Regions from separate parts of the Homo sapiens genome. Here regions 1, 2, 3 and 4 are each linked to region 5. Evidence: promoter capture Hi-C in human tissues and cell types (Jung and others, 2019). All regions are on one chromosome and are shown on one strand. Each heading gives the region's core, a stretch centred on a gene start or on the middle of the fragment in contact. The rest is flanking DNA. Distances are from core to core; before and after follow the strand shown. Region 1 holds the start of RHBDF1 (rhomboid 5 homolog 1). Region 2 overlaps NPRL3 (NPR3 like, GATOR1 complex subunit). Region 3 holds the start of POLR3K (RNA polymerase III subunit K). Region 4 overlaps NPRL3 (NPR3 like, GATOR1 complex subunit). Region 5 holds the start of RAB11FIP3 (RAB11 family interacting protein 3).

Evidence for each region. Contacts are between HindIII fragments. The study calls those that stand out against the background at their distance.
Region 1: a contact is called between a fragment that was not itself captured here and the fragment with the promoter of RAB11FIP3 in region 5, in 1 of the 25 tissues and cell types used here (lymphoblastoid cells).
Region 2: a contact is called between a fragment that was not itself captured here and the fragment with the promoter of RAB11FIP3 in region 5, in 2 of the 25 tissues and cell types used here (lymphoblastoid cells and mesenchymal stem cells).
Region 3: the fragment with the promoter of POLR3K here is called in contact with the fragment with the promoter of RAB11FIP3 in region 5 in 1 of the 25 tissues and cell types used here (lymphoblastoid cells).
Region 4: a fragment that was not itself captured here is called in contact with the fragment with the promoter of RAB11FIP3 in region 5 in 7 of the 25 tissues and cell types used here (dorsolateral prefrontal cortex, heart right ventricle, liver and 4 more).

The regions. Positions count from the first base shown.
Region 1 is chr16:68,957-74,778 of GRCh38, forward strand. RHBDF1 (rhomboid 5 homolog 1) reads right to left here and starts at 3,675. Exons shown (of 18, transcript NM_022450.5): 1 at 3,557-3,675. It overlaps LOC124903617 (a long non-coding RNA gene), which reads left to right and starts at 3,871. Exons shown (of 2, transcript XR_007064932.1): 1 at 3,871-3,980; 2 at 5,424-5,822. RefSeq lists enhancers at 1,435-2,252, 3,889-4,706, 4,707-5,523, 5,524-5,822 and silencers at 3,245-3,428, 3,675-3,734. The HindIII fragment of the contact is 4,515 bases long and covers 1,422-5,822 here.
Region 2 is chr16:119,221-124,724 of GRCh38, forward strand. NPRL3 (NPR3 like, GATOR1 complex subunit) reads right to left here. Exons shown (of 14, transcript NM_001077350.3): 4 at 1-35. Among named protein-coding and RNA genes, the nearest start is that of NPRL3, 17 kb to the right of the region's middle. The HindIII fragment of the contact is 8,123 bases long and covers 1-5,504 here.
Region 3 is chr16:49,797-54,857 of GRCh38, forward strand. POLR3K (RNA polymerase III subunit K) reads right to left here and starts at 3,812. Exons shown (of 3, transcript NM_016310.5): 1 at 3,680-3,812; 2 at 1,762-1,849. The coding sequence starts at 3,790. SNRNP25 (small nuclear ribonucleoprotein U11/U12 subunit 25) reads left to right here and starts at 4,032. Exons shown (of 5, transcript NM_024571.4): 1 at 4,032-4,262. The coding sequence starts at 4,221. RefSeq lists enhancers at 3,078-3,604, 3,333-3,492 and silencers at 3,823-4,142, 4,283-4,382. The HindIII fragment of the contact is 23,499 bases long and covers 1-5,061 here.
Region 4 is chr16:102,797-108,315 of GRCh38, forward strand. All of the region lies in intron 7 of NPRL3 (NPR3 like, GATOR1 complex subunit), which reads right to left. Among named protein-coding and RNA genes, the nearest start is that of MPG, 27 kb to the left of the region's middle. RefSeq lists an enhancer at 3,960-5,519. The HindIII fragment of the contact is 7,021 bases long and covers 1-5,101 here.
Region 5 is chr16:421,176-426,898 of GRCh38, forward strand. RAB11FIP3 (RAB11 family interacting protein 3) reads left to right here and starts at 4,474. Exons shown (of 14, transcript NM_014700.4): 1 at 4,474-5,545. The coding sequence starts at 4,832. The HindIII fragment of the contact is 17,968 bases long and covers 1-5,723 here.

The DNA.
Region 1 (5,822 bases), core at 2,429-4,928, 350 kb before region 5:
ACAACCCTAAGCAAGCCTCAGCTTTCCCATCTGGAAATCAGGGGTCACAGCAGTGCCTGGCACAGTAGCAGCGGCTGACTCCATCACAGGGTGGTGTAGCCTGTGGGTACTTGGCACTCTCTGAGGGGCAGGAGCTGGGGGGTGAAAGGACCCTAGAGCATATGCAACAAGAGGGCAGCCCTGGGGACACCTGGGGACAGAACCCTCCAAAGGTGTCGAGTTTGGGAAGAGACTAGAGAGAAGCTCTGGCCAGTCCAGGCATAGACAGTGGCCACAGCCAGTGGAGAGCTGCATCCTCAGGTGTGAGCAGCAACCACCTCTGTACTCAGGCCTGCCCTGCACACTCACAGGACCATGCTGGCAGGGACAACTGGCGGCGGAGTTGACTGCCAACCCCGGGGCCAGAACCATCAAGCCTGGGCTCTGCTCCGCCCAAGGAACTGCCTGCTGCCGAGGTCAGCTGGAGCAAGGGGCCTCACCCCGGGACACCTTCCCAGACGTGTCCTCAGCTCACATGAGCCTCATCCCAGGGGGATGTGGCTCCTCCAGCATCCCCACCCACACGCTGCTCTCTGACCCTCAGTCTTCTGTTTGACTCCTAATCTGAAGCTCAATCCTAGATCTCCCTTGAGAAGGGGGTCACCAGCTGTCTGGCAGCCCAGCCTCCAGGTCTTCTGGATTAATGAAGGGAAAGTCACCTGGCCTCTCTGCCTTGTCTATTAATGGCATCATGCTGAGAATGATATTTGCTAGGCCCTTTGCAAACCCCAAAGTGCTCTTCAACCCTCCCAGTGAAGCCTCTTCTTTTCTGTGGAAGAAATGAGGTTCAGGGTGGAGCAGGGCAGGCCTGAGACCTTTGCAGGGTTCTCTCCAGGTCCCCAGCAGGACAGACTGGCACCCTGCCTCCCCTCATCACCCTAGACAAGGAGACAGAACAAGAGGTTCCCTGCTACAGGCCATCTGTGAGGGAAGCCGCCCTAGGGCCTGTAGACACAGGAATCCCTGAGGACCTGACCTGTGAGGGTAGTGCACAAAGGGGCCAGCACTTGGCAGGAGGGGGGGGGGCACTGCCCCAAGGCTCAGCTAGCAAATGTGGCACAGGGGTCACCAGAGCTAAACCCCTGACTCAGTTGGGTCTGACAGGGGCTGACATGGCAGACACACCCAGGAATCAGGGGACACCAAGTGCAGCTCAGGGCACCTGTCCAGGCCACACAGTCAGAAAGGGGATGGCAGCAAGGACTTAGCTACACTAGATTCTGGGGGTAAACTGCCTGGTATGCTGGTCACTGCTAGTCCCCAGTCTGGAGTCTAGCTGGGTCTCAGGAGTTAGGCGAAAACACCCTCCCCAGGCTGCAGGTGGGAGAGGCCCACATCCCCTGCACACGTCTGGCCAGAGGACAGATGGGCAGCCCAGTCACCAGTCAGAGCCCTCCAGAGGTGTCCCTGACTGACCCTACACACATGCACCCAGGTGCCCAGGCACCCTTGGGCTCAGCAACCCTGCAACCCCCTCCCAGGACCCACCAGAAGCAGGATAGGACTAGAGAGGCCACAGGAGGGAAACCAAGTCAGAGCAGAAATGGCTTCGGTCCTCAGCAGCCTGGCTCAGCTTCCTCAAACCAGATCCTGACTGATCACACTGGTCTGTCTAACCCCTGGGAGGGGTCCTCTGTATCCATCTTACAGATAAGGAAACTGAGGCTCAGAGAAGCCCATCACTGCCTAAGGTCCCAGGGCCTATAAGGGAGCTCAAAGCCTTGGGCCAGGTCTGCCCAGGAGCTGCAGTGGAAGGGACCCTGTCTGCAGACCCCCAGAAGACAAGGCAGACCACCTGGGTTCTTCAGCCTTGTGGCTGTGGACGGCTGTCAGACCCTTCTAAGACCCCTTGCCACCTGCTCCATCAGGGGCATCTCAGTTGAAGAAGGAAGGACTCACCCCCAAAATCGTCCAACTCAGAAAAAAAGGCAGAAGCCAAGGAATCCAATCACTGGGCAAAATGTGATCCTGGCACAGACACTGAGGTGGGGGAACTGGAGCCGGTGTGGCGGAGGCCCTCACAGCCAAGAGCAACTGGGGGTGCCCTGGGCAGGGACTGTAGCTGGGAAGATCCTAGGGGAGGGCCTGATGGTCCCTGAAAGGCAGGGGAGACCTGGACGACTCCCCCTAAACCAAGAGCGCACCCTAGAAAGTCAGCTCCCCAAGGTGGGGACCGGCCAGCTCATGAGGGGTGCTGGTTGAGGGGCCTGCTTGTGCAACGGAGGCCACCCAGCCAGTGAAAGCTACTTGGAAGGGCTGGGAAAGGGTCTGAGGCCCCTTCAATCTGGCACCACCAGACTCCCATGCACTCCATTTGCCCCTGCCCCATTCTCAGGAAAAGGGGCCCGGCTTGCCCAGAATGACCCCTGGTGGCAGGGGGCTCCGCCTCAGGGACCCCTTGAGCCCCAGCCAGCTGCTTGGTCCCCAGCTTCTGCCCACCCTTGGGGTCGGGGCTAGGAGGTTGGGGTTAGCTCCACAGGGGTGAGGAGAACCGAGCCTGGGACTGCCCAGGCATCTAGCTGGGTCAAACCTGAAAAGCCAGTTTCATCCTTGAATCTTCTCCCGGTCTCCAACAGGAAGTCCCGTTGGCGGGTGGGAGTTCCCAGGATAGGAGAAGGGCCTCCAGACCTAGGCCCCACCCACCGGGACAGACACACACATTCACCATCTCAAGCGGCACACACAGAAGAAACTCTGGTCAGGACCACCTCGGTCGGAAGCAGGCCCTGGGGGGCCAGGGAAGATCCCCTGCCCATTCCCCGCCCAGCCCCACAAACATGCCCCCAGCATGACAGACAACCAGGCCCTCTGCCAATGCCCTGAGCATCTGGGGTCTGGCTGTCACCCCAGCCGGGAGAAGGCCTGTCCCCGTTGGCCTCTGCGCACAGAGTGAGAGTCTGTCTTCGGGAGTCGCTCCCAGCCCACCCTGGAGCTTCGAAGTGTACAGATGGGGGAGTCAGTGTCGTGGGGCAGAAGGCGGAGTCAGTCCCCCACCCCCAGCTCCACGGCTCCTGCTATTCCCATCGGTGAGGGCAGCCGGGACAGGGACCATCCCGCCCTGGGCTGGAGTTTCAGCTCGGAGACACCACCCGCCGGTCGTGGCCGGGAAGGAAAATGCAGCGGGGGGAGTTCAGAGGAACCTGGGGCACCCCCGGACTCTAGACTCCCGCTCCTGGGACCCTCAGCTGTTGGGCGGGGGCTGGAGCCGAGCTGTCCCGCCCGGCCAGGCCGCTGGGGCTGCTAATCCGGCCACGGGCTATTTTTGCGGCGCGCCGGGCTAGGAATCCGGGGCTGGGCCGCCTCCGCGGGCGACTCGGGAAACTCCAGGAAGAAAAGCCCGGCCGCCCCGGGGGGGCCTCGCCGCGACCCCTCCCCGGCCCCGGCCCCGGCCCCGACACGGCCCCGGCCGCTCTGAGCAGCTCCGGCCCCGGGTGCTGAGGACTCGCCCCGCCCTCCGGACGCAGCCCCGGAACCCGCCCGCCCCCGGAGCCCTGCGCTCCCGGCCGCGCTCACTCACTGCCGCCGCCGGGGGCTCTGGGGGGTCCTGAGGGCGCCGGGGAGGAGGCTGCCGCCGCTGGCCGGGAGGGCCCGCGCCGAGTCCCCGCCCGCCCGCCGGTCCGGCCCGCCCGGGAATGCCCTGGAGCGAGGGGCGTGCGCCCGGGGGCGGGCCCGGCCGGAGCGGGGCGGTCGCGCTGACTCAGAGCTCAGGAATGCGCGCCGCCCGCCTGCCCGGCCCAAGTCACCTCCTCCCGGAAGGCCGCCGGGCTCCCTTCTCCCCAGGGTCCGCCTGCGGGGACACCTGGGGCTGGGGTCTCCAGCGCCTCGGCCCGACGGAGGACCTGGTGGGAGCGGACCGCAGTGTCAGCGCTGGGCGGCTCCGCCTCTCCCTGGCTCCAGATTGAGGCTTGAGCTGTCCTGCCCTGATTTGTGCTGAGAAGAGGGTGAGGAGGGAGAGCAGGCACGGGGTAAAGGGCGGAGGATGGGTGTGTATCCCTGGCTCCCCTAAACCCGACCTCCTCCAGAGGCCCACGCTGACAAGTCCTGTATCCCACACTCACCCAATCCCACTAAGCACTCACATTCCCTCACACACATTCATGTGCACCGATCACTCACAATCATACACACACGTCCCCACATCCTTCCACTTCATGCGTTCATTCGCCTGCACATGCACGTGCTCACATGCACCCACCTACTCATGTACATCTTTCATGGGTACATACACGTGCACACACACACGTGTACACACCGATGCACACACTCAGTTCAGGACCACAGTCATTACCCCTCCCCCTGCCCTGTGCCCCTACCCCCAGAAGCCCCGCTCCACCAGCAGGCACTCAGGCCAGGCTGCACCGGCCCCACCCGAAGCCACTCAGCAGAGGCAGCGCAGTGTCTGGTGTCCACTCTGGGCTCTTCTCACTGTCTCAGAGCTCAGCGGCCACCCCGGGGTGGGCTCATATCCCTGCACAATCTGGGCTGGACTCAAAATGGCACTCTGCTTTCCGCTGGGGCTGCTGGTGAGAGTTTCCCAGCATTTCTCTCCTGACACTGGGTGGGCTGACCCTCCCAGGGTGGGGGACAGGGGTGCCAACAGCAGAGTACGGGCAGGGCTGTCCAGGAGCTCTGAGTGGTGGGTGGCCAAGGCTTCCTCTGGATAGAGGGTGCAGGGATCCCTTCGTCCCATGGGTCCCTAAGGACCCCTCTACAGGGTGCCCCCCCATGCCTCGGACAAATGTGTCTTCAGGCCCTGTGCTGGTCACAAGGTGCTGCTGCTTCAGTGCCATCCTCTGGGTCTGGGTGGCACCAGCCCTCTCCAAACTGAGCTGTTGCACTTGAGGGCCCGACGCAGACAATGGCCTGCTCCTTGGCTAGACAGAAAAGGGGAGAATTTGAACTAAAGGTGCTGGTACACTTACCGGTAGATCCCAGAGCCTGGGCAAGATTCCCCTGCCCATATCCTTGTCCATGCCACGGGATAGGGCGGTGCCTGCACATAATGGGTGCTCTCTGAACACAAGCAATATCAACACAATTCTCATGTAGAAGGAGACAATGGAAGCTTTGGAGGGGGTGGAGGGTAACTCCACCAGGGGATGACTGCCAGTGCATCACGGACACCGGGTGAGAGGGAGCCTGCCCCAGTGCCAACACTCAGTGCTCCGATAGCCTGCACGTGCCACCCCTCCCATGCCAGGCTCACAGCCAGAGACAGGACAGTCTCCATGCTTAGCATTATTGACCTGCCAGGGATAAGCAAGCCCTATCGGGCCTGGATGCCCAGACTAGGCTGGCAGGGCCAGAAGTGGTGTCCTCTCTGGAAAGCTGGGGACTGGGCTTGCCTCCAAAGCATGCCACAGCTGGGCATCTGGTGTCAGCAGGTCTCCTCCTGCAGTGGACTCTGTCAGACCCCACCTAGACCCGCTCCAAGACCCAGACACTCATCGCCAGCTGCCAGGAGCACCAGTCACAGCTGGCTCAGAGCTGAAACCCCCCGCACCCAGGAGTCACCTTCAGTGGGGAGCATGCCCCAGTCTGCCTCTGCAGGCAAATCCCCAGCTCAGAGCCTGTGTCCAGGAATCCCCAGGCTCTCAGCCCACCCTGGCCTCCTGAGTGAGGTCATCAGAAGGATGATCAGAGGGGGGTCGATACACGTGTGCTCAGTGTCAGGCCTCTGAGCCCAAGCCTGCACGTATACATCCAGATGAAGCAAGTGAAGAATCACAAAAGAAGTGAAAATGGCCGGTTCCTGCCTTAACTGATGACATTACCTTGTGAAA
Region 2 (5,504 bases), core at 857-3,356, 300 kb before region 5:
TTGCCAAAATTGTTGCCAGAATAACATCTGAAAACCTTAAAATTTAAGAGAGGTAGAATAAAAATAAGTTAACAAAATACCACAGCACCATGCCCTGCTGGCCCCAGAGCGGAAGGGTCTCAGTAAACTGCACCTTCATGGAGTTGCTCTGCCCCGACTGCTGGTGGAAGCTACTAACAGTTGCCCTTCTGTAGCAATCCCAGAGGTTATGGATGTAAGATCACCAGAATTACAAGGTAAAAGGCATGAGAAGCACAGACTGAAGGCACATGCTGTCATTTTTTGGCATGCTCTATTAAATTCAGGAGAGAAACAGTTGCAGTTTGCTTTCAAAGGGAGGATCAGCTGGAGCCGGCACTGCCCTGCGGAGCTGCTCTTTAAAGTTCACAGGCAGAGGGGCCTCTCCCAGTTACACTCAGGTTTGCTGTGCTGCACCTTCAACTCCCAGGACCCAGGCCCTTCACCCACAGAGCGGCCCTTCACCCAAAGAGCCGCGTGGAGGGCAAGGGGACAGTGCACAGGGATGCGTGCAGAGCGCTGACTTCCTTCCTCATAGCATGGCTGCCCATCCGTTCCCTTATCCCAAACACTTAAACTTTCCGGTTTTTATCAGGGAAGAAGCTTTGTGCAAGATGTGCAAGCCCACTGTGATCACAGCTATTTCCAAATGGCAGAAATACCAGGTTGCACACAACTGGGTGCCACGGAGAAGTGGGTGCAGCTGTGGTGTGGGAGGGAGGGCATCCCTTTTCCCCTTTTCAAGGTCATCTGTGCCCTTCTGTCTCCTTACTGGCAATGCTGATGCCTCCTGCCTGGGGAGATCTGGATAAGGGAGTGTCACCTGCAGGGGTGCTGTGGGTGGTGCTGACTCTTATCTCAGAGTCCAGGGCTCTGAGGGCCTCCGCTCTAGAAACACAAATGTACTACCTCTGATCTGGACCCAGAAGAGAGAGAAGTCCCATACATATCTCTCCACCCAGGAAAAATATATCTAATATCTAGGTCAGGAGGGTGCACTCTCTTGGGGAAGCTCTAGCCTCCGCAGGGCCATACTCTGCCCCTGGGCAGGGAGACCCCTAAGGTCCTAGAAGAGACCACTGAGGACAGACATTCTAGGGTGCAAACCTGGTCATGCTTCTTCCCCAGAGGCCCTCTTGGTGAAGGGATGGGAGAGACTGACATAACTCCTCCATGTTGTGATGAAAAAGGAAGGCCTGCTTTGAACTGCACTGTAGCTCAGCTCTGTAATAGCAAATGGCAAGTAGCTACATGATTCTTTCCAAGTCTATCATGGGCTGTGGGGCTCAGACTGTTTTCCAGCCTTCCTCCTGAACTGGCACGACCCTCTAACCATCCGAAGTCACCCTAGGCTCACAAACAAACCACATACGAGGGTTTGGTCAAACCTATTTGTGCCATTTGGAAATAGCCTCTCAACCCAGTCAGGTTGCAGTTGGACCTTCTGAAATCAATCTTGTTAGAGTTATCCTGGGAAACGCAGGACCCACAGCCAAGTCCTCAGCAGCCCACTGCAGGTCTCTCCTGCAGAGATGGAGGATTCAAGTGCCTTACACCACAGGCATAATATGCTTTCTTCAAAAACCCTAAATGGCTCACTCTGTTCTATAACTCCCATCTGTGGGACATGGTAATGTTGAAGGAGGGTTTGAGGTATTAAAACGCCACCAAACACTTCTGCTCTAGCAACTGACCCAGGGCCAACGCCTCACATCCTATCTAAACAGTGCCCCTCCACTCTGCCACCCAGTGACTCAGGGGACACAGAGGTAACAGAAAAATAACCACCACCACTCCAGAAAGGTCCCTTGCTCTGACAGCCCAAAATCTCCACTAAAAACTGCTGCTCTGTCATAAAGAGTCACAGCCATGTCTCAGCCTCAGCCCTCAGGCACCAGTCCAGGGACCAAATTTAGTTTGGCTGTGAGATGGTCCCTGGGATTCTCAGAGGCAAGCAGTGGTAGCCCAGTTCGCGTTTATAAATACCTAAACTTCAAGGCGCCCTCACAACAGCCAAATAAAAGGCTCTTTCCCTGCTAGAGGCCAGGGTCTGCAGAGACGGCCAACTGGAAATCTGTGAGCTGAAGTAAAAAGGCACACTGGGCCAGGCGTGGTGGCTCACACCTGTCATCCCAGCACTTTGGGAGGCTGAAGTGGGTGGATCACCCGAGGTCAGGAGTTCGAGACCAGCATGGCCAACATAATGAAACCCCCGTCTCTACTAAAAATACAAAAATTAGCCGGGCGCAGTGAAGCCTGTAGTCCCAGCTAGTCGGGAGGCTGAGGCAGGAGAATCGCTTGAACCTGGGCGGCAGAGGTTGCAGTGAGCGGAGATCGTGCCACTGCACTCCAGCCTGGGTGACAGAGCGAAACTCCGTCTCAAAAAAAAAAACAGTCACATTGACTTAGTGGCTGTTCATGGAGCCCTCTGAGGCAGCCAGCAGGGTGGTAGTTAGCCATTGTTTATCTGAGCAAATCTGGCCCACAGAGAAATCTACTCCCCACACCTTAATATTACAAACATATAATGACAAAACGCTTTTTTTTCTTTTTGAGACGAAGTCTTGCTCTTGTCCCCCAGGCTGGAGTGCAATGACGTAATCTCGGCTCACTGCAACCTCCGCCTCCCGAGTTCAAGCAATTCTCCTGCCTCAGCCTCCCGAGTAGCTGCGATTAGAGGCACCCGCCACCACGCCCAGCTAATTTTTGTATTTTTAGTAGAGACGGGGTTTCACCATGTTGGTCAGGCTGGTCTCGAACTCCTGACCTCAGGTGATCCGCCCGCCTCGGCCTCCCAAAGTGCTGGGATGACAGGCGTGAGCCACCACGCCCGGCCCCATGACAAAACAATTGAGCGGCTTTTTCTTTTCCCCCTTGAGATGGAGTCTTGCTCTGTCGCCCAGGCTGGAGTGTAATGGCGCAATCTCGGCTCACTGAAACCTCCGCCTCTTGGGTTCAAGCGATTCTACTGCCTCAGCCTCCCAAATATCTGGGATTACAGGCGCGTGCCACCAAGCCCGGCTAATTTTTCATATTTTTTAGTAGAGACAAGGTTTCACCACGTTGGCCAGGCTGGTCTCGACCTCCTGACCTCATGATCTGCCCACCTCGGCCTCCCAAAGTGCTGGGATGACAGGCATGAGCCACTGCACCCATCTGGCTTTATACTTTATATAGTCTGTCTGGTAATGTAATACACATAAAGACAGAGTTATATTCATGAGATTGGGGGTGGGGCAAAACTTATAAACAGCAAACTGAACCATAAACAAGTGTTGTTTTGTTTTATTGGCTTCCAACATTTATGAAAATCCTTTTCCCTCATTTTGATGGTGAAAGGCCTAATAAATGTACTGCAGCACAATAAAACATCTGTTACAAAAACTGAAGATTCCTGGAATAACTTGGAAATTCAAGAAAAACACATTTAGGAAGATGAACCAGCCCAGCCAGAAAACAGGCCAGGACCTTCTATCACTGCCGAGCTATTCTGGAGTAGGGTTTGCTCTCTAGCTTGGACAAAAAAAGGGATGGAAAGACATCCTGGAAGGGAGCTCAGTTCTGCTCCCCCCACCCACCTAAAGGGATGGAAAGACATCCTGGAGGGGAGCTCAACTCTGCTCGCCCCACCCACCTCCTTGCTGGAAGCTCACAGACACTGTGTGTACCTCCAAGGCCCAGAGGAGATGCACTGTCAAGGGGAATGGAAGAGTCGCCCGTCATCCGTGCCCTCCTGGACAAGCACCATATCAATTCCATGAGAACATTTCTGCCTCTATTAAGCACACTCAATAGCATCTAGGCCTGAGCATCACACTTAATGCCCAACCCTTGGGAGAGGCCCCCACAAAACCCCTCAAAAAATAAAAACAAGGAGCAACAGTCACAGGTCTCTCTAGGGCGGCAGTGGACTAGGGAGATGACAGAGTCCACTCCTGCTTGCCCGCCACCCTCACAGGACTACTTGTGCCTACCTGGAGGAAGAGGAGGTTTGTGTGACATGCCTGGTCCCAGAAGTCTCCCGGGTGCCAGCCAGCCATGCCTTGGCCTCTCAGGTAATGTGAAATAGCTAAATGACTGGGTAGAGAAAAAGCCGGGGTGGTGGGAAGTCTGGGCATTCATGGGGGAACTGGGGCAGTGAGGTCCACGCCTGTGTGCCTCATCAGTCACTCTTCAACATGGAGGGAAATCAGGAATTAAGCACAATTACAAGAAGAGAAGGCAGCCGGAATCAAGACAGAAAGACGGTGGAGAGGTCTCGGTCTTACCCTGCAACCAATTGCTCATCGGTTGGAGGACATGGCTCGCTGAAATGGGAACAGGACCATCAAGACCAAACAAAAACATATCACTTTTTTAAAAACCATGAAAAGTTACAAGGCTATTTTATAAAAACTGCACAAAAGTCTAGCAGAAGTGCCACCATTAAGCATTAACTGTTGACCATCACGACTAAGCAACTTACCAGACAAGAAACAGGATCACACACTCCCCACGCTGAGAAACAGGGTCACACACTCCCCACGCTGAGAAACAGGGTCACACACTCCCCACGCTGAGAAACAGGATCACACACTCCCCACGCTGAGAAACAGGATCACACACTCCCCACGCTGAGAAAGAGGGTCACACACTCCCCACGCTGAGAAACAGGGTCACACACTCCCCACGCTGAGAAACAGGGTCACACACTCCCCACGTTGAGAAACAGGATCACACACTCCCCACCGCTGAGAAACAGGATCACACACTCCCCACGCTGAGAAACAGGGTCACACCCTCCCCACGCTGAGAAACAGATCACACACTCCCCACGCTGAGAAACAGGATCACACACTCCCCACGCTGAGAAACAGATCACACACTCCCAACATGTGAGAAACAGGGTCACACACTCCCCACGCTGAGAAACAGGGTCACACGCTCCCCACGCTCAACGCTTACCATGGGGTTTTCTCACTAAAAGTCAAATTCTCACACAGAAGTACAGGCTGGGCAGGAACAAAAGTCATTTTTCAGAAGTAAGCACAAGGCTGGCAGAGCTGGGTCAGACCCAGCACCATATGTATTAGCCGGATGCCTGTGCAGAAGTATCTCATCTTTTCTTTTCTTTTTTTTTTTCCTTTTTTCTTTTTTTTCTTCAAAAGAGACAGGGTCTCACAATGCTACTCAAGCTGGTCTCATACTCCTGGGGTCAAGCAATCCTCCTGCCTCGGCCTCCCAAAGTACTGGGATTACAGGCGTGAGCCACTGCACCCAGCCTAAAACTAATCTTTGTGGTAAAAGTTTTCTCATCTGCATGACAAGAAATCGCCTACCGAGGATCACATAAGACTCCCAGAGGCAAAAGCCTTCTGAAAACTATAGCGTGTCATATGAATTTCACCAGCTCCAATTCTTGAGATACTGTGACTGCCAGCACACCTGACTTCCCTAAGCCTCTGCCTGGAGCAATAAAGTGGTCATGGTGGATCCATATATATTTG
Region 3 (5,061 bases), core at 2,562-5,061, 370 kb before region 5:
GCTCAGCTACTTTTTGTATTTTTAGTGGAGACGGGGTTTCACCATGTTGGCCAGGATGGTCTCGATGTCTTGACCTCGTGATCCGCCCACATTGGCCTCCCAAAATGCTGGGATTATAGGTGTGAGCCACCGTGCCAGCTGCTAACTTTTTCACATAGCAGATTTGTATGTTCTTTTTTTTGACAGAGTTTCGTTCTTGTTGCCCAGGCTGGAGTGCAATGATGCAATCTTGGCTCACTGCAACCTCCACTTCCCGGGTTCAAGCGATTCTCCTGTCTCAGCCTCCCGAGTAGCTGGGATTACAGGTGCTGCCACCACGCCTGGCTAATTTTTTGTATTTTTAGCAGAAATGGGGTTTCACCGTGTTAGCCAGGCTGGTCTCGAACTCCTGACCTCAGGTGATCCGCCCGCCTCGGCCTCCCAAAGTGCTGAGATTGCAGGCGTGAGCCACCACACCCAGCCTATATGTTCTTTTATAGGGGGAAAACCACAGTACTAACCATCAGTTATCTCTCTCACCTCTCAATATAACTTACATTTACGTCTTCCCCTTTCCTCTCCTGGCCACATCTATGTCTACCAGACATGCAATAAACATGTATTTTACCCAATCTGCAGTTTAATGCTCACTGGTATTAACTTCTAAAAATCTATATTAGAAGCGTGTATTAGTCCGTTCTCACACTGCTATGAATACCTGAGACTGGGTAATTTATATAGACAAAAGGGGTTTTGTTTGTTTTGAGACAGAGTCTCACTCTTGTCACCGAGGCTAGAGTGCAGTAGTGTGATCTCGGCTCACTGCAACCTCTGCCTCCTGGGTTCAAGCAATTCTCGTACCTCAGCCTCCTGAGCAGTTGGGTCTACAGGCGAGCGCCACCACACCCGGCTAATTATTTTATCTTTAATAGAGACAGGGTTTCACCATGCGGGCCAGGCTGGTCTGGAACTCCTGACCTCAAGTGATCTGCCTACCTTGGCCTCCCAAACTGCTGGGATTTACAGGCGTGAGCCACGACACCCAGCCAAGAAAAGAGGTCTAATTTACTCACAGTTCTGCGTGGCTGGGGATGCCTCAGGAAACCTACAATCATGGCGAAAGGAACCTCTTCACAGAGCAGCAGGAGACAGAATGAGTGCGAGCAGGGGAAACGCAAACGCTTATAAAACGATCTGATCTTGTGAGAACTCACTCACTATCAGGAGAACAGCATGGGGGGAAACCGCTCCCATGATTCAATTACCTCCCACTGGGCCCCTCCCAGGACACCTGGGGATTACGGAAACTATAATTCAAGATGAGATTAGGGTGGAGACACAGCCAAACCATATCAAACAGAAAGAACATACTTTTTTCCTTAGACTCTTATTTTTATTAATCTACTCATCATTGCCATTATCAAAGCTATCACCTGTTGAGTGCCTCTTATATACCAAGCACGGTATAATTCACTTTATGCTCTCGCGGTCTACGAATATGGATTAGCCCCAGAGAAGTCAAGAGACCCAAGGAAGGTCCTACAACAATACAAGGTTGCCCTGAGAATCTGACCCGGGCCTGTATGACTCCAAGGCTGGCACAAATATTGCTTGTCTGACAGATTATTAAACAGTAACAAATACAAATAAATTATTCAAGAACCATTTTCTATTTTTAGAAACCTACATCATTTATATGACATCATAGACTCTGCCAAGCAGTGGCATCAACAGCCTCATAATTATCCACAGTTTAGCAACAGAAACAGTTTTCCCTCTTACCTGCAGTAGAGTCAACATTCTCCCAGGCAGCTGCTCCACCAAGCACATCATCCACTTCTTTCAGTTTTGGGTACTTCCGATTTGTTACCTAACAAAAACAACACTTCAGACTCCAAGTAACTGAATAGCGCAAACCTGGGCTGCCAAACCTTAAATTTCAGGATTACATAAGAGTTCACTCGGCTGGGCGTGGTGGCTGACACCTGTAATCCCAGCACTTTGGGAGGCCAAGACGGGCGGATCACGAGGTCAAGAGATCGAGACCATCCTGGCTAACACGGTGAAACCCTGTCTCTACTAAAAATACAAAAAATTAGCCCGGCGTGTTGGCGGGCGCCTGTAGTCCCAGCTACTCAGGAGGCTGAGGCAGGAGAATGGTGTGAACCTGGGAGGCGGAGCTTGCAGTGAGCCGAGATCACACCACTGCACTCCAGCCTGGGCTACGGAGCAAGACTCCATCTCAAAAAAAAAAAAAAACAAAGAGTTCACTCTTCCCGTAGTTTCAAACTCCAAACTCCCACAACACAGTACAAACTGGAGTAGCATGCAAACATTAAGACTGACGTAGCACCAACATATTCTAACTGCTAAAAAGTAAAGGTATTCTGGCCAGGCGTGGTGGCTCACGCCTATAATCCCAGCACTTTGGGAGGCCAAGGCAAGCGGATCACCTGAGGTTGGGAGTTCGAGACCAGCCTGGCCAGCGCGGTGAAACCCCGTCTTTACTAAAAATACAAAAATTAGCCGGGGATGGTGGCAGGCGCCTGTAATTCCAGCTACTCGGGAAGCCGAGGCAGAAGAATTGCTTGAACCCGGGAGGCAGAGGTTGCAGTGAGCCGAGATTACGCCATTGCACTCCAGCCTGGGAAACAGAGCGAGACTCTGTCTCAAAAAAAAAAAAAAAAAAAAAAAAAAAAAAAAAAAAAAAAAGGTCGGGCGCGGTGGCTCACGCCTGTAATCCCAGCACTTTGGGAGGCCGAGGCGGGCAGATCACGAGGTCAGGAGACCGTCCTGGCTAACACACGGTGAAACCCCATCTCTACTAAAAATACAAAAAAATCAGCCAGGGGTGGTGGCGGACGCCTGTAGTCCCAGCTAATTGGGAGGCTGAGGCAGGAGAGTGGCGTGAACCCGGGAGGCAGAGCTTGCAGTGAGCCGAGATCGCGCCACTGCACTCCAGCCTGGGCGACAGAGCGGGACTCCGTCTCAAAAAAAAAAAAAAAAAAAAAAAAAAAAAACAATAAAAAAAAATAAAGAAAGCACACAATACATTACATAATATATTAGAAGGTAATAAGCCCTATGGAAACAATTACAAAGGGAAGGAGAATAAATTGGAAGGAGGGGCTGAAATTTAAAATACGGTAAAGACAAGACCAATGAGTAAGGTGGCGATCTAGGGGAAGAGTGAACTGAGCAACAGCAAGTGCAAAGGCCCTGCTAGCACCATGAGCACGATGAGAGATCGTCCAGGAGGCGGTGTTGATGCGGCAAAGGGCAACAGGAAGGGCATTAGGACTTGAAATCGGAGACGCACGCAGGGGAGGGAGTCAGTGTCGGAACCTGGTAGGCCCTGGGAGAACTCCGGCTTTTCGTCTGCGTGAGCTGGAGAAGAGCCGAAGGTTTCTGCGCACAGCACGGACCTGCGTGCCTCAGCTTTAAGGAAATCACCGTGGCCGCCGCTGTGAACGCAGAGAAGGGCGCGAGCGTGGGAGCAGGAACCCAAGGCGGTGGGAAACGGTGGGGCTTTCTGAGTGTATTGGAAAGTAGAGCCCACAGATCTGCTGCAGACCAGAAAGGGGCGCGAGAAAGAGCGGACAGAGGCAGACGCCGGGGCTGGCGGCGATGGAGCAGCAGTCGGAGGACGCGGAAGGCCTGCGAGAGTCGCCCGCGCCCAGCGCCGGCCTTCGGGTCCCACCTTGCGGGTGATGTTGTGCACGTAGGGGCACGTGTTGCAGGCGAAGCGGTGGCAGCGTTGTCCCTCCTCCACGATCAGCCCGTTCCCGCAGCCGGGGCAGAACAGCAGCATGGTCTCGAACTCCGCAGGCTCCAACTCCCGGCAGCTCCCACTGCCGCTCAGCGCCGATGCGCCGCCCGCCTCGAGCTCACATTGGTCCTGGCAGCCTTCCCGCCACACCAACCAACCAATAGACAGGGCGATTCTGCGCTCCCGGCCCTGCTGCAGGCTGTCTCGCACTTGTCATTGGTCACTGCAGCCGCCCCACCCCCCCCGGCGCGCCAGTGGCTGGGCGGCCTCGCTGGGGCGGGCCGCAGTTCCTGCGCGTGCGCGCTTGGCCTCCCTAGTGCGGGCTGGCAGTGCGGGCAGAGCCCGGCTGAGAGGGGCGGCCCTGGAGGAGACGGAGGCCGCGGGTGGGCCCGAGGCGCAAGAGGAAGATGAGGACGAAGAAGAGGCGCTGCCGCACTCCGAGGCCATGGACGTGTTCCAGGAGGGTCTGGCTATGGTGGTGCAGGACCCGCTGCTCTGCGATCTGCCGATCCAGGTGTGTGCGGGCGGGGGCTGGGGGCGCGGGAGTCGTTCCCCGGGGTCCGGGCATCCGGGCGCCGGCAGCCTCCGAAGGTGCTGGTGGGAGACTGCGGCCCAAGGCTGAGGAAGGCGCCTCTGGGCGTAAACGAGGGTTTTAACCTTGACCGGGCGCACTCGCCTGGGGCGCGAAGCTTAAAGAGGAACCAAAAACCTCATTAGTGAGTGACATCAAATGACATTTTAATGTAATTGTATTTAGGGGGCTCGGGGGACAGGGTCTTGCTGCGTTGCCCGGGCTGGAGTGCAGCGGCGTCCTCCCACCTCAGCCTCCCGAGTAATTGGGACCACAGGTGCGCGCTACCACACCCGGCTAATTTTTAAATATTTTGTACAGAGGGAGTCTCACTATGTTGCCCAGGCTGATCTGAAACTCCTGGGCTCAGGCGATCCTCCTGCCTCGGCCTCCCAAAATGCTGGGATTTAGGTGTGAGCCACCCGCCTGGCCTGTAATACCTTTAAAAGTCAAAGTTGAGGCAAAAAAAGAGCCTACGGTAAAAGAAAAATTTAGTTTTAAATAAGAGCAAGATTAGTAGTACTGATTGTTCCATTTGCCTCAAGCGTCAATCATGTGTCAAAGCGTCAGTATCATGCTTTGGGACGATACTGTCTTTTTATTTATTTATTTATTTATTTGAGACTGAGTCTTGGTCCGTTGCCAGGCTGGAGTGTAGTGGTGCCATCTCGACTCACTGCAACCTCCCCCTCCCGGGTTCACTACAGGCACGCGCCACCACGCCCGGCTAATTTTTTGTATT
Region 4 (5,519 bases), core at 341-2,840, 320 kb before region 5:
AGGTCCCAGAGGAGGGCAGCAGTCTCAGCTTCTTCCAGAACTGCATGCTAACCAAGTATGTCGGGGCAGACAGAGGCTCCCAGAACCTTACCTCTCTTTGGTCAGGGTCTTTGCAGGGTGAAAAACTCGTATCAAACCCTGAGAAATGTCCCAGCCGCTAAGGAATTAAAGATCACACCAGGAGAGATTTGTCCAGGGGATCCAGGTTACTCAACTTGAGTAAGCAATAGTTAGGATCTTGGCATCCGTATGCGACAGGGAAGAAAGGGCAAGCGAGAGGTGGCCCCATGCACTGTGCTGTCACCATCTGGGTCAGAAAGGAGGGCCACTGGAAATAAAAGGTCTATTTTTTTTTTCTTTTTTCTGAGACAAGGTCTCACTGTTGCTCAGGCTGGAGTGCAGTGGCGCCATCTCCGCTCACTGCAGCCTTGATCTCCCAGGCTCAAGACAACCTCCCAAGTAACTGGGACTACAGACGTGCAACATCACGCCTGGGGTGATTTTTTTTTTTTTTTTTTTTTTTTTTTTTGTAGAGACAGGGTCTATGTTGCCTAGGCTGGTCTCAAACTCCTGGGCTCAAGCGATCCTCCCACCTTGGCTTTTCAAAGTGCTAGGATTACAGGCGTGAGCCACCGCACCCACCCAAGGCCTTTCTGTTTCTGTCCTATTTAGGATGCAGCTCAAAGTGGCTGTTGGGACACCACAGAATCAGAATACGGAGGCTCCTATTGTTTCAAATGTAGCTGTCTTTGCTCCATCTAGGAGCACAGTGAGGCCTTATGACATGTGCTGTGGCTCCCAGCACCAGTTTAGGTACTTGGAGTGCAGCAGGGAAGAAAATAACTTGGCTGCTCTGCACGCTGGGGGCTTCACTCAGCGGCATCTAGACAGACACATAATTGGCCGGGCGTGGCGGCTCACGCCTGTAATCCCAAAACCTGGGAGGCCGAGGCAGGCCGATCACTTGAGGTCAGGAGTTCGAGACCAGCCTGGCCAACATGGTGAAACCCTGTCTCTACTAAAAATACAAATATTAGGCCGGGTGCCGTGGCTCACACCTGTAATCCCAGCACTTTGGGAGGCTGAGATGGGCAGATCACCTGAGGTCAGAAGTTTGAGACCAGACTGACCAACAGGGAGAAACCCCGTCTCTATTAAAAGTACAAAATTAGCTGGGCGTGGTGGTGCATGCCTGTAATCCCAGCTACTTGGAAGGCTGAGGCAGGAAAATCACTTGAACCTGGGAGGTAGAGGCGGAGGCGGAGGTTGCACTGAGCTGAGATCGTGCCATTGCACTCCAGCCTGGGCAACAAAAGTGAAACTCCATCTCAAAAAAAAAAAAAAAAATTAGCCAGGTGTGGTGGCAGGTGCCTGTAATCCCAGCTACTTGGTAGGCTGAGGCAGGAGAATCACTTGAACCCAGGAGGCGGAGGTTGCAGTGAGCCGAGATCGCGCCATTGCACTCCAGCCTGGGTGACAGAGCAAGACCCTGTCTCAAAAAAAATTGAAATTAACGTTTAAAAAAAAAGACACCTAATTGTAATCAAATTGTATGGAGCATTAGAAACTGGAGAGAGTTATAGGGAAAGGAACAGGGGCTTGGAACACACCTCATGGAAAGCCAGGAACAAGTTCCAGCTATGGGTATGGAGAAATGAGGGCAGGAGGGTCACATGAAGGTTCTTCTAGTGACTTCCCAGCTTGGTCATCTCTGCTGCCCTCACCGTGTCAGCTGTCCTTGGAGCCGCAGTCATGTGGTCTGGTTTGTACACTGGCATGGGGCCCTCTCCTCTGGCAGAGACACGCCATGTTGGTTCCTCTAACTTCCACGTGGACTTTACTCCATTTTCCCAAGCATCAGCTCACCCACCTGCTGCTTTCTCCCTCAGAGCACTCTGCACTGAGGCTGGTGCTTCTTTATGAACTAACCCAGCTCCCTAGAGCGGTGACAAGTGCTGCCACCAGGAGTGCCCCAAAGGCCATGGCAGACCTGGGCAAATTCCCTGAACATGTCAGAGGGATGACTGCTCTGGAAAGGTGCCGGCCCAACCTCCAGCCTGTAAATCCCCCACAGTAAGAGGGTAAGCCAGGAGCTGCACTGAGGTCTGTTAACAAGGGGAAAGAGAAAGGTTTGTCACTGTTTTTAAGTCTGCAGCTTTAAGACAAGAGCCCTTAGCACAAGCAGGGTTTGGGCCCTGAAAGGTTTCCTGCCGAGCTTGCACTTCTATTTGCAAGGTGTTTAATGGTTTGGTCTGAAAACACTCTGGAGGAAAACACTGTCCTCCTCAAGACTTATCCAGCCCCTCACACAGCTCTGGGCCAGCCAAGAGGGCCCAGCCCAGTCTGTGACAGGAGATAGGTGCCCCAGCCAAAGCCCTGCATCCTGACAATGACTATGCAAAAGGGAATGGCTGGCTTCAAACACACTCTCGCCGTTCATCTCCAAGACAGAAATGTGCACAAGCTTAGTCTAGTCCCCTCAGCTTTTAGCATCTGAGAAAGCATCCATTCCTAACCTTAGAACTAGACAGGACCTGTGAAGCTATCCTGCAAACCTCTGCATCCTCTGGTCCCACGGATGGGCCTGGCTTCCTACCATAAGTAGTGGGATGCTGCATAACCCAAAAGATCTATGTGGGTTCCAAACAGCCTACCTTGAAATTTCAAACGAAAGTTTATATATAGGTGCATTTTTATGGAAATGGGTACTACAACTCAGGATATTCACAGAGGGTCCATGGGACCAACCCTGCTCTCGACAGTTTGCAGTGCAAGGCTCCGCACCAAGTACCACCTACCCAGCCAGACCCTGGACATCACTCCCCACCACAGGTCCTGTTAACTCGGAGAACCATTCAGCAAATCACTTCTTCACACTCCATGGAATCTACACTGCTGTTATTCCCACCCACACATTCCGTCGACCCCTAGCGGATGAGCTGTGCTCCTCCACAGGCTGAGTGTAGGGGCTGTGTTGCAGAAAGTGAAGAGACATCCCTGCCCTCCTGGGAGACACAATTCAATGGTCATATGAATGAGTGACATGCTGTCACTGAGGGCCACTGGGATCCACAGGGAGACACAAGTGCTAGGTATGGCACAAGTGTTGGGGTGGCCTCCTGAGCGATTCACATTCCCAGCCTATATTCACAGATGTTAGGTCCTGCAGGACAGGGCCACCAGGCTATTCAGCCACACCATAACCCTAGCTTTAATTAAAATAGCAACTGGGGACCGGACGTGGTGGCTCACGCCTGTAGTCCTAGCACTTTGGGAGGTCGAGGTTGGCAGATCACGAGGTCAGGAGTTCAAGACCAGGCTGGCCAACATGGTGAAACTCCATCTCTACTAAAAATACAAAAATTAGCCAGGCCTGGTGGCAGGCGCCGTAATCCCAGCTGCTCAGGAGGCTGAGGCAGGAGAATCACTTAAGCCCGGGAGACGGAGGTTGCAGTGAACTGAGATTGTGCCATTGCACTCCAGCCTGGGTGACGAAGCAAGACTCCGTCTCAAACAAACAAATAAATAAATAAATAAATAAAATAGCAACTGGGGGCAGGGCATGGTGGCTCACGCCTATAATCCCAGCACTTTGGGAGGCTAAGGTGGGTAGATTGCTTGAGTCCAGGAATTCAAGATCAGCCAGGGTAACATGGCAAAATCCCATTTCCACAAAAAAATACAAAAACTATTCAGGCGTGGGGGCGGGTGCCTATAGTCCCAGCTACTCGGGAGGCCGAGATGGAAGGATCACCTGAGCCTGGGAGACAGATGTTGCAGTGAGCCAAGATTGCGCTCCAGCCTGGCAATAGAGTGAGACCCTGCCTTAAATTAAAAAAAAAAAAAAAAAAAAAAAAAAAAAGAACCAGGAACAATTCCTTTGAAAAATCCCACCCCAATCTCCAACCTCATTAATCTCACAGCTTCTGGTCTTTCAGTTCTGTTCTGAGATTCCCCCAGATCTGGCAGTCAGTCACCATCAGGAGAAAGGCGCTCTGTCCTAGGTCACCTGATCAGTAATGGAAACTCAGTCTCCTCCTCTCAGTGCAGAAGAGTGAGCAGCAGCAGACCAGACCCTTGAGGCCAACCATGGACCTGATGGGATGAGGACAGACGAGAGGCCACAGCCCAGAGGGGCTCCTGGGTGGCTGCAGAGCCATGCCAGTGCCAGACAAGGATGGGTACAGGGAGGGTACTACTGCCTGGACTCCTGCCAGAGAAACATAGCTGCCAGCATCCCTGGGGCAAGCTCCAGGACCCAAGACTGTTAGGGTGGGAGTTTGGATGGAGGAAATGTGATCCTGGGCACTAACAAACAGAATGCGTAGGTCAGGAAAGAATGCTACATGCTGAACAACAGCTTAGGAGCCTTTTTCAGCAAAACTCAGATTCCTGTCCTCCTTTAATATCCACTAGGTGGCGCTGGGTTGCCTCAAGTTCTGAGCTCCTCCGCAGCCTGCAGATCACACAACAGGCAGTCCAAGGTTTTGTCTCCTTTCAACTTTCCAGCACGATTCAAACCTAAGAAATCATAGTCCATTCTTCCTTTAGAAATATAAAGTCAACGAGCCGGGCACGGTGCTCACGCCTGTCATCCCAGCATTTTGGGAGGCCGAGCCGGGCGGATCTACAAGGTCAGGAGTTCGAGACCAGCCTGGCCAATATGGTGAAACCCCATCTCTACTAAAAATACAAAAATTAGCCAGGCATGGTGATGTGCACCTGTAGTCCCAGCTACTCGGGAGGCTGAGGCAGAAGAATGCACTCCAGCCTGGGCAACAGAAGGATATTCCATCTCAAAAAAAAAAAAAAAAAAGAAGAAGAAAAAGAAATATAAAGTCAATGGTTTGGTTTTTATTTAAACAAATTTTTAAGAGACAGGGTCTCACCATGTTGCTGGGGCTGGAGTACAGTGGCTACTCAGACACCAGCATAGAGCACTACAAGCTCGAACTCCTGGGCTCAAGTGATCCCCCAACCTTGGCCTCGCCTGTGAGATGGGACTACAGGAGCACACCACCGCACCAGCTTGGTTTTTATTTTAATTCCAAGTTAGCCTGATTTTTGTTTGTAATCTAATCCGAGTTGAGGCATACACTCAGAATAAGGGAACAATGTCCAAGGAAGAGACTGGATACCAGGCAATTCAAAGCCAGAGGGTAGTAATTCTCTCAACACAGAGAAAACATTAGTGTGATAACAATGAATCAAAGACAGGGTCAGACTACATGACCACAAAGGTCCCATTCTGCAACACAGAAGGGGCCAGAAAACAAAGCAATCACCTGGCAAGGGCTGATGTTCTCTCACACCTGGGGAGGCTCAGTCCCCAGGGTCACCAAGAGACAAACAAATGCTAGTTGCAACTTATATCACAAAAGACAAATCACTCTCCCATGTTTAAGGACTTATATCTCCCGATAGAAGAATGAACAAGGGATCTGAGCAGCGAGCTCACAGAAAAGACAGGTGGTTCAAACATGTGAAGAGATGCATCAGTGCATCACAATAAAGCTACA
Region 5 (5,723 bases), core at 3,224-5,723:
CCAGTTGCTACCCCAAAATTTATATATTGGAGTCCTAACGCCAACGGGATGGTATTTGGAGATGAGGTCTTTGGGAGGTATAACTTAGGGTTAGGGCCGGGCGCGGTGGCTCACGCCTGTAATCCCAGCACTTTGGGATGCCGAGGCGGGTGGATCATGAGCTCAGGAGATCGAGACCATCCTGGTTAACACGGTGAAACCCCGGCTCTAGTAAAAATACAAAACAATTAGCCAGGCATGGTGGCGGGTGCCTGTGGTCCCAGCTACTGGGGAGGCTGAGGCAGGAGAATGGCATGAATCCGGGAGGCAGAGATTGCAGTGAGCTGAGATGGCGCCATTGCACTTCAGCCTGGACGACAGAGCAAGACTCCGTCTCAAAAAAAAATAATAATAATAATAATTAGGGTTAGATACGGTCAGCAAGGTGGGGCCCTCACGATGGGAACAGTGCCCTTATTAGAAGAGACAGTCTTTTTTTTTCTTTTTTCTTTTTTTGAGACGGAGTTTCACTCTTGCTGCCCAGGCTGGAGTGCCATGGCACAATCTCGATTCACTGCAACCTCCGCCTCCCAGGTTCTAGTGATTCTCCTGCCTCAGCCTCCCAAGTAGCTGGGATTACAGGCATGCACCACCATGCCTGGCTAATTTTTTGTATTTTTAGTAGAGATGGGGTTTCACCATGGCAAGCCTGGTCTTGAACTCCTGACCTCAGGTAATCCACCCGCATCGGTCTCCCAGAGTGCTGGGATTACAGGCGTGAGGCACCGTGCCCAGCCTTATTTTTATTTTATTGTTTTCCTTGAGATGGAGTTTCCCTCTTGTTGCCCAGGCTGGAGTGCAATGGTGGGATCTTGGCTCACTGCAACCTCCACCTCCCGGGTTCAAGTATTCTCCTGCCTCAGCCTCCCAGGTAGCTGGGATTACAGGACACGCCACCACGCTCAGCTAGTTTTTGTATTTTTAGTAGAGACAGGGTTTTACCATGTTGGCCAGGCTAGTCTCGAACTCCTGACCTCAGGTTATCCACCCGCCTTGGCCTCCTAAAGTGTTGGGATTACAGGCGTGAGCCATTACGCCCGCCTTTTTTTTTTTTTTGAGATAGTCTCGCTCTGTTGCCCAGGCTGGAGTGTAGTGGCTGGATCTCAGCTCATTGCAACCTCTGCCTCCCAGGCTCAAGTGATTACCCTGTTCAGCCTCCTGAGTAGCTGGGATTACACGCACCCGCCACCGCCCCCGGATAATTTTTTTTCTTTTTTTTTGAGACAGAGTCTCACTCCATCACCCAGGCTGCAGTACAGTGGTGTGATCTTGACTCACTGCAACCTCCACCTCCCGGGTTCAAGCAATTCTTTGCCTCAGCCTCCTGAGTAGCTGGGATTACAGGTGCCCGCCACCACGGCCGGCTAATATATACATATATTTTTTAGGTGGAGTCTCGCTCTGTCGCCAGGCTGGAGTGCAGTGGTGCGATCTTCGCTCACTGCAACCTCTGCCTCCCAGGTTCAAGCGATTCTCCTCCCTCAGGCTCCCGAGTAGCTGGGACTACAGGTGGGTGCCACCACACCCGGCTAATTTTTGTATTTTTAGTAGAGACAGGGTTTCACCATGTTTGCCAGGATGTTTTCGATCTCTTGACCTTGTGATCCGCCCACCTTGCCTCCCAAAGTGCTGGGATTATAGGCTGAGCAACCGCGCCCGGCCTAAATTTTCTATTTTTTAGTAGATACGGGGTTTCACCATCTTGGCCAGGCTGGTCTTGAACTCCTGACCTCGTGATCCACCCGCCTCGGCCTCCCAAAGTGCTGGAATTACAGGCATGAGCTCCCACGCCCAGCCCAAAAGAGACAATCTTTCTCCAACATGTGAGGACAGAGTGAGAAGATGGAGGCTATGCTTTGAATGTTTATACCCTCCAAAACGCATGTTGAGGCCAAGTGTGGTGACTCATGCCAATAATCCCAGCACTTTGGGAGGCCGAGGTGGGCGGATCACTTGAGGTCAGGAGTTTGAGACCAGCTTGACCAACATGGTGAAACCCCGGTCTCTACTAAAAATACAAAAAATTAGCCGGCCTTGGTGGCATACGCCTGTAATCCCAGCTACTCAGGAGGCTGAGGTAGGGGAATCACTTGAACCCGGGAGGCGGAGGTTGCAGTGACCAGAGATCGCGCCATTGCACTCCAGCCTGGGCGACAGAGTGAGACTCCATATCAAAAAAAAAAAAAAGATAATAAGGTGCTGCAGATCTGTGGTCTCAGCTACTGGAGAGGCTGAGGTGGGAGGATCTCTCTTCTATTTTTATTTTTTATTTTGGAGACGGAGTCTTGCTCTATCATCCAGGCTGGAGTGCAATGGTGCAATCTTGGCTCGCTGCAAGCTCTGCCTCCCGGGTTCACGCCTTTCTCCTGCCTCAGCCTCCCAAATAGCTGGGACTACAGGTGCCTGCCACCACACCTGGCTAATTTTTGTTTTTTTGTATTTTTAGTAGAGACGGGGTTTCACCGTGTTAGCCAGGATGGTCTCCATTTTCTGACCTCGTGATCCGCCCGCCTCAGCCTCCCACAGTCCTGGGATTACAGGCATGAGCTACCACACCTGGCCTAAGGTGGGAGGATCTCTTGAGCCTAGGAGGTTGAGGCTGCCGTGAGCTATGGTCGCACCACTGCACTGCAGCCTGGGCAACAGAGCAAAACCCTGTCTCGGGGAAAAAAAAGAAAAGAAAAGAAAAGAAGGAACTGCTACAGCCCACAGCCTACAAAGGGGACACAGATAGTAGCTCTGAACAGCAGACGGATAGACGGGAACTTGTCCCTTTAGTCTTTCATGAACAGCCTCTAACTGGTCCAGGCAGGGAGGTGCAGGCTTCCAGGCTGTGGTTCCATGGAGGACACCAGCCGGGCACGCAATGGACGTTTTCCAGCCCTAGCACAGACAGAGCGTGCGGGCCCCTGCTCTCAGAAAGCCAGCCTTCTGCCTCTGGCAGCGCCGGCACATAAAAGCAGAGGGAGCCTGCTGTCTCTGCCTCGCCCACACTAACACCCCTATTTAGAAAGGTTGACACATCACTATCACTGCTTCTGAAAATTTTATCCGGCCGAAGGCATCAGCCCAAATTTGAATTCTTGCCAAAGCTGCTGGTGATTTCGTTCTTTGAATGCAGTATCTTCCTCATGAACACGTACAGCTCTTACAAGAAAATGAGAATACGGTTTGGGGAGGAGGATCCCTCACATTCCTTTTCCTAATGCCAGCCTCGCGAAGTCTGGTCCCATGTACCCTGGGATTCTGCCACGGAAGATGACTCACTTAATTAACACGCTGCTCCTGACCGTACACTTGGAAGCAGAGGTTCCGTTCCTTTGGTTCTTGCCAAAGCTGCTTACGAAACCATATCTTGTGTTGGTGCCCATGGTGTGTAAAAATACAAGTTCATCATTTCCCTGATACAAATTATGACAGGCTAAATTTAGTGCCTCACCTGTCCTAACTAGCTTTCCCACCATCATGCCTGCCGCCGGGCTGTGGTCCTTTCTGAGGTCCCGTGTCCCTCTGAGGACAGGGACACCCAGACACAGAGGTCAGTTGTCAGACGCGGCCACGGTGCTCGGGAGGCTGGCTGCAGACGGGCGATTCACCCTGGGTGTCTTCTTGAGTCTTATTTTTTGTAGAGACGAGGTCTCGCTTTGGTGCTCAGGCTGGTCTCAATCTCCTGGGCGCAAGCGATCCTCCCGCTTGGGCGTGGGCCAGCGCGCCCGTCCCAACGCTGGGAGTCCCGGAGATCTTGGTCACAGGCTTAAGGGAAAGGCCTAGCGCGTGGCCGCGCGTGCCTCTGGTTTCAAGGGACATGGACTGCGTGTCTGGGGCCCCTCCGCACTCCGTGTCAGACCCTGCGTCCCCCGGGTCCGCGCGGGACCCGGGCAGGGCGTCGCCCTCTGCGGCGTCTGCGCCCCGCGAACCCTGGGGCACCTGCAACCCCTGGGCCGCGGAGCCAGGCGTGCGCCGCCTCCTGGTCTCATCAACGTGAGAACGCTTTACCCCCGAAGAGCTCAGCTCCTAGGGGGCTATGTCCCTTTGCGTCTCTCGCTCGCCAGGCGGTGCCGTTTACTCGACCGCACCATGCGTGGGTAGCGGTCGCGCCCGCTGGTAGCTGTGCGGCGGGAACACGTTCTAAGTAAGGCCTGACTCCGCGCGCCTCTTGCCAGGGACGTCACGTCACGCCTCCACTCGCAGCCTCGGAGCACCCCCGCGTCCCGCGCCCGAAGCTCGGGACCCCCGCTCTGGCGAAACGAGGAATATGACATACAGCAAAACACCCCTTCGCGGCCGCTGCACTGCCGCGACACACCCGGCGCCTGCCTCTACAGCAAGCCGGCGAGGGGCTGGGACCCCGCCGGGACGTGCTGACGTCAGGCCCGACGGGGGGCGGGGCCTGGGCGGCGGCGGCGTTAGTTCTCCGGGTACCTCAGGCGCCTCAGCCTCCTTAGTCTCCTCATCCTGCTTCACAGGCTCCGCGGCCTCCGGCCTCCTCGGCCCCCGTCCCCCGGCCTCCTCGGCCCCCGTCCCCCGCCATCCGCCGCCCGGATCCTCGCCGCCCTCCCTAGGCCGCCCCGCCGCCATGGGCCTGCGCCCGCCGCGCCGCCGGGCCGAGGGCAGCTGAGGCGCGGTGCGAAGATGGGCGAGGACAGAGCAGGGCCCGAGCGCCAGCCCCAGCAGCCCGGGCGCCCCGCGCGCGCCCGCCCGCGCCGCCGAGGGGATGCCCGCGCCCGCCGCCGCGCCCTGAGCGCCTTTGTCTGCCGCCCGCGCCCTTCCGCACCACTAGCCTCTCGGGAGCATGGCGTCGGCCCCGCCGGCCTCGCCCCCGGGCTCGGAGCCGCCGGGGCCCGACCCGGAGCCGGGCGGGCCGGACGGGCCGGGGGCGGCACAACTGGCTCCGGGCCCTGCGGAGCTACGCCTCGGAGCGCCCGTCGGCGGCCCCGACCCGCAGTCCCCGGGCCTGGATGAGCCTGCGCCCGGGGCCGCTGCAGATGGCGGGGCGCGTTGGAGCGCCGGGCCGGCCCCGGGGCTGGAGGGAGGCCCGCGAGACCCCGGGCCGTCCGCCCCGCCGCCGCGCTCCGGCCCGCGGGGGCAGCTTGCGAGCCCCGACGCCCCGGGCCCAGGGCCGCGCTCCGAAGCGCCGCTTCCAGAACTCGACCCGTTGTTCTCCTGGACTGAGGAGCCCGAGGAGTGTGGCCCCGCGAGCTGCCCGGAGAGCGCGCCTTTCCGCTTGCAGGGGTCCAGCAGCAGCCACCGAGCGCGGGGCGAGGTCGACGTCTTCTCTCCCTTCCCCGCGCCCACGGCGGGCGAGCTGGCGCTGGAGCAAGGTCCCGGGTCCCCGCCGCAGCCCTCGGACCTCAGCCAGACCCACCCCCTTCCGAGCGAGCCCGTGGGGAGTCAGGAGGACGGCCCCCGCCTCCGAGCCGTGTTCGATGCCCTGGACGGGGATGGGGACGGTTTCGTCCGCATCGAGGACTTCATCCAGTTTGCTACGGTCTACGGGGCAGAGCAGGTACGGAGCGGCCCGGGCCGGGGCGTGGGAACTGGGCAGGTGCGCGCTGGCCGGCGGGGTTGATGTGGGACCGGTCGACGCTGCCCCTGGAGTCGGGAAAGGCACTGTCAAGACCTGACGGTCCTGCTTTTTCTGCTTATTCACCACTTCGGCCCTGGATTTCTGGTTGAATTGCGCT